Linked DNA regions of Homo sapiens: region 1 is linked to region 2. The links are contacts of gene promoters, found by promoter capture Hi-C in blood cells and fetal thymus (Javierre and others, 2016). All regions are on one chromosome and are shown on one strand. The core of a region is centred on a gene start or on the middle of the fragment in contact, and the rest is flanking DNA. Distances in the headings are between cores, read along the strand shown.

Evidence for each region. The method cuts DNA at HindIII sites, captures the fragments that hold promoters and counts their contacts. A CHiCAGO score of 5 or more calls a contact.
Region 1: a fragment that was not itself captured here is called in contact with the fragment with the promoter of SPATA13-AS1 in region 2 in 2 of 17 cell types (total CD8 T cells and naive CD8 T cells); the score reaches 9.9 in total CD8 T cells.

The regions. Positions count from the first base shown.
Region 1 is chr13:25,301,245-25,304,064 of GRCh38, reverse strand. NUP58 (nucleoporin 58) reads right to left here and starts at 2,440. Exons shown (of 16, transcript NM_014089.4): 1 at 2,185-2,440. The coding sequence starts at 2,291. RefSeq lists enhancers at 2,145-2,194, 2,305-2,384, 2,545-2,784. The HindIII fragment of the contact is 276 bases long and covers 1,433-1,708 here.
Region 2 is chr13:24,253,033-24,255,846 of GRCh38, reverse strand. SPATA13-AS1 (SPATA13 antisense RNA 1) reads left to right here and starts at 1,408. Exons shown (of 3, transcript NR_046531.1): 1 at 1,408-1,511; 2 at 2,648-2,768. All of the region lies in intron 4 of SPATA13 (spermatogenesis associated 13), which reads right to left. The HindIII fragment of the contact is 5,552 bases long and covers 1-2,814 here.

The DNA of each region.
Region 1 (2,820 bases), core at 321-2,820, 1.0 Mb before region 2:
TCCAGATGTGAGAACTCCCCTAAAATGACCAACCTCAAGACATCAAATCACTAGGTGGCACTAGGGGCTGTCAGGCCTCCCAACCAGCACTCTAACAAATTTATGTCGGACAGTCTCCTCTTTCATTAATTTATCCAAGCCTCTCTAAAACTTGGGTAATTTTTTATAGCTTATTACTAATAACTCATTTGCTCAGTCATTCAAATTGTTATTAAAGCCCTTTTTCTATGCCAGGCACTGTCCTTGGGACTGACAATGAGGTGGGAAATTAAGACTCAGACCTTGCCCTCAGGCAGTTTCTAGTCAGTGAGAGACATAGGTATTAATTATTCTAGTGCTGAGATCTGACAACAAACAAGTTAACAATAAATATAACAAACTGATTACAATTGTGATCAGCACTCTAAGAGTACTAGGAGAATGGAAATCTCCCCTAGACTGACAGGTCAGAAAAGGCCTCTCTGGGGAAGAGACCATTTGATATTTGCAAGGAAGGGGCTGGCAAAGCCCACTTGAAAAGAGAAAAGGCCATGTTGCTAGGACAGGCTTTCTAAGATCAGGACCATGAGAGAAATATAAAAATTAATTCATCAAGTCATAAGCAACATTAAAAAAAAAAAGAAATAGAAAATATCAAAGTGCATCCCATGAAGTAAGGGTATCTTTCTCTGAAACTTCATTTCAGTTATTTAGGGTGGTAGTTGTGTGTTTGTTTTTAACAGTGGGTCTGCATAGCTAAAATAAAAAGATGGGCTCAAGATGAGTCCCGCTCAAGATGAGTCCCCAGAGGTTCCAGCAGAAGTGGACCTTGCAGACTATGGTAAGTTTTTTTTTCTTTTTTAAACTTCATTCTAACGATGGCGGGTAATGATTAAAGAGAGAGCAATGGGAATTTTGTTTTTCAATTACTCTGGCTAAAATGTGGCAGAACAGATTGAAGAAGTTGATTGGAGTAGTTTTCATCTAAAACAAGAAAGACAGCTGGTTAAAAATCTGACAAGAATCAAAATTATTTTCATAAGAATGTAAGGATCAAGAGAGCAAGACTCTTAATACCTAAAACAGAGCCTTGCACATGGGAATCTGTCCAATAAATATTTGTTCCACGAATGACAATAGCCTAAGCAGGGTTGTGGAACTGGAAATAAAGACAAACAGAAATGGCAGAAGTAACATTATCAGAACCTGTTGTTGAGCGAGTAGAGTAAGAATAACGGAGGTATGGATGAAAATTCAAATTTCTGAATTGACTGTGTAGTCCGTGGTTCCTCCTCCCTCCCTTTTTAAACTGCAGGTCATGCTTAAGTATTTGCCTTTTAAATCTACAGCCACATCTTTTAAGCTTCAGGAAGTATCTTGTTGACAGTGTGCACACTCCTTAACTTTATGAACCCCTCCACCTTTATCTTAAAAAAAATTGAGTTCTAAAGCTTAAATCTCTCATTAAAATGTCTCACCACTTTGTTTCTTTCTGGATAGTTATGTTTTTGTCGCCACCTGAACTAATGGGTTGCACAAAAACAAGGAACATGCTACCTACGTTTTGTAATTTAAGTAAAAGACAAATTGAGTTATTACAACACAACATTCTCGCATCAGATATACTAATCTGCACATACTGCAGAAAATTACCACTAATAAACACTGTAAAAAAGTGTTTTTGTTTTTTTTAACAAAAACAGATAAGGTCCCATGTGGCACAAAAGCTTGAAAAGCTGGTTAAAAACCACAAAGTTATTAAAACACCGTCATATCCAAAACCGCAAATGCTGCAATGAAATCGGAATTATCTATCATAAAACTCCACAGTATGCTATAATTTCATTCATTCATTCAATGTTCATTCTATGCCTAAGACTGACACATCGCTAAAGCTCCGGGGTAGACCCCAAGGCCCTTCCACGCAGTCAAGACCCCACTAGGTCCAAATAATGCCTGAACTATACGTGGATTCTGGAAACCTCACAGCACAGAACCCATCCCGCCCTCCACTTCACCAGGCCGCGCTGGGCCCGGGTACCGCGGCGAGAGGCCTACGACGCCGGGCGGCTAGATTAAGTGCTTCTCTCCAGCCCCACTGGGAAGGAAGCCAGAGGGAAGAGACAGGATGGGGACACCAAGGGAGCTTTGCGGGGGTGGGGGTGGGGGTGAATCCGGCCCAGGAAGGCGAGAAAGTGCGGTTACCTAGACGCTCCCGTTCCGAAGGAGAAAACGCCGCCTGTGCTGGTCCCGCCGGCGGCCACGGTGGTGGAGCCCAGAGTCCCGGACCCGAAGGAGAACCCTGTGGACATGTCTGGCCAGGGCTCGACGCCGTCAGCAAGGCGAAATGGGTCTGGGACACTTCTCTCGCCTCAAAGCCGAGGCGGGCCGGGCAGCATCTCTCTCGCCCGGCACGGACCTGGCGGGAACTTCCAGCCCCAACGGCGGCGAAGGCAAGGCTGAGGGGGTGGAGCAACCACGCAAAAGTACGCCCGGCGCTCGCCGCGCGCACGTAGCCCGCCGGAAGTGTAACCGTCACGCAATGAGCCCTGGTACGTGAGTGGGGGACGGCGAGCCGCGCAAGGTACGCTGGGACCAGGCGAGAATAGGCGTACTGCCTAATCTCTTAAAGGAGTAGGCTCCCAGAGTTTAAAAACAGTAAAACCATTTCTGTCATTTTTTAGTTCTTCTATCGTAGCATCTGTACTGACATAATCCGCACTTTAGGGTGATGAATGTCAATTGCTACTTCTATCTAGCCTCCTGCCAAAATTGATGCTCAGAATCGCAGAATCGGGGAGGTCCCTCCTGAGCATCTCTAAGCTCCCCACTCAGAAAAGG
Region 2 (2,814 bases), core at 159-2,658:
TGCTGAGCTCAATTTGTGGGCTTACTGAGCTGGATGCCATTCTAGCACTTCGTTGGTATATAAACCTAAAACCCTCAGTGCATAGAAAGGAAGGAGTTCCAGGACTGGGATGGAAATGCTAGAGATGGTCTATCATGTGAGTCTCACCACCCCTTGGGCTGCATCTCCCATGTGACAGCAGCTTTTATAATTAATGTACTGCTAATCTCTCTAGGCCAGAGATGCTGCTGAGAGATGGTTCCACTGCAATGCAAACCTGGTCCTCCATGGGGGTGGGACATCTGTCATGGGAAAAAGGTGGGCATAGTTACTATACCACACAGCAGGGCCAGCTTGGTCATCTGAATGGTTTGACCTGTGAAATCTCTGGTTGTGCTGTTAACTGATCTCGGGGTCCCCAGGAACAAAACAGATGAGTGATTCCACAAAGGTACCACAACATTGTGTAGGAGGAACTCTCCAGGGCTGGCAAGCAGAGCCCGACCTGAGCCACCATGACAGAGAAGACAAGGGAGGGCCCTCACTCAACTCCCAGACTCAGGCCTCTTGATGGAGCAGAGCCAGGGAGCCTCAGGGTAGGCATCCTACTACAAGTCTTCTTCCTAGCTTCTCAAAGAGAACTCCTACCATCAGCCTGGTGACTGTGTCCTCAGGACAGGGAAACTCCCGGCGGCAAATGTAAGCAATACTCTTCCCAAGCCTTTCTGAGTAGGAGAGATGGCTTTGGCAAGGCAAGGATTTAGCTCGTGCGCACTCCTGGTTAGGAGCTAATGGCCTGGCTGAATGGCCTGGAGGAATGTGGAAAGAACAAGATGGGCTGAGGATGGGTTTGGGGAAGGAGTATAACTGGCTACCTCAGAATACCCGCAGAGCATGAGATGATGTCCATCCTACATGAATCCTTATTGCAAGAGAGGCTAATCAATCATCATGTGGACATGCTGTCCCAATGTGCAGCTAGATGCCAGTCTTCCTTCCTAGTCATCTTGATACTTGCTCAGTGGGTTCATAAAAAGGAAAAAAAAAAAGAAGCAAGCAAGAAAAAGGCCATGGTGGCAAAAATGGATGCCAAGCCTGGGCTAAACCACAGGAAGTCTGGGCCTTCCCCTCAACAAAGCTGATGATACGGTTCCCCGCAGGAACCAGACAGCCCCTTGCGGAAAGCTGATTGCAGTGGGGCCTTTTCATAATAGAGGGGGTGGTGATTTGTCCCTACTGGAAGGGCCACTTATGCTGGGCTTGGATTTGTTTTCCTGCACTCTGTGGATCCTCTAGAAGGCCCCTATCCTGTCGCAGCATCTCACACGCCATCCAGGCCCAGAACGTCACAGAGAAGGAAGCACATGACCCCATCACACCCAATAACAACCAAATAAAAATGAAGTTACAGAGGCAGCTGGGAGACACACCCAGAAGTTGCCATACTGCCCTGGATGGGACGCAAGCTCTGAAGCAGTGACTAATTTGGAGAGGCTGGCCCACAGCAGAAGATGCAGGGCCGGAAACCAAGGGTAAACATAGAAGCGGCTTCTTAGGATTACTTAATAATATACTTGCAAAATGTTTTCTTCCCACCTAGGAACTCTGCTCTGTTGAAACTGAATTTAGTGCCCAAGGGAGAAGTACTTCCTCCAGAGTTCACAGTCCTGGCCACAGTGAATCAGAACCAAGGCTGGCCATTTTTGCCTCTTCGTACCACTGGGAAAATGAGCACCCACGGAAAATGGGGATGGCTTTTGTGGTCACTGCTACCATATTTCTCAAATGGACTAATGCAATCGCCTTCAAATCAATCTCCATTCCTCTTCCTTTCCCCCCACAAACTGCCCTCCCTCTCTAAGCATAAACCGGAACATAATATGCTCCTGCTGCCAATGGCTTCACACCACACTTAGAACAAGCTCAGCCTCCTCATGACCTGCAGAGCCCTTTCCAGCCTCAGCCCACCTCCCAGCCTGCAACATCCTCGTCTGCCTCTTGCTCCCTGAGCTCCTGTCACTGTGGCCTCCTTGCTGAACCTCAGACACATCATGTTTCCTGCCTGTCTTTGGGCTTCTGGTGCTCCTTCGGCTAGGACTTCTCCTCCCTCGGATCTCTGCCTCACTGCCTCCTACTCACCTGTCCCCAGCGTCACCTCCTTGGAGAGGAGGCTATCTCCCCCACCTGCTCCTACTCCTCACATTACCCAAAGTCATCTTCTGCAGGGCCGTCACTGGTGCCTTGGTGCATCCTACATATTGACTTATGGAATCTGTTCAAATGCTGAAATGTAAACTTTGCATGACGTTTTATTCTCCACAGCATCCCAAATTCTCTATTTCCTTCCTTTCCCTGCCTTGCCATTCTGGTAGGGATGTGTTGCTTAAATCTGCCTCTAGTTAATCAACGCTGAAGAGGCACTGCATGGAACTGGAGGACTAGTTATCCTAAGAGGTCCTAGACTTGGAGGTGTCTGCTGCCACTGATGAGGATCTGGGTGTCTCCTTCTAGGGAAGAGAGAGAGGGTTCATGGAACAGGTGCATCCTGTTCATTAGAGTGTCATTAGAATAACACTCTTTGGAAATGAATGCTCTCTATCCTGTTTTATTTTTCTTTATAGTACTGTCTGCTCTGTTAAATACTTACTTGGCCTGTCTTCACATATAGAAGGCAAGGGTCCCTGGAGACAGACACCCCACCCTTCTTCCTGTTCCAGTACCACCAGGTGGTGGACATATCACCTAAGCTCGGACAGCTGAATCTTCCATCCTGGGACCTGAACCCCTGGGTGAGTGACAGAAAGACAGTCACTAACTCCTAATAAGTTAACTCCT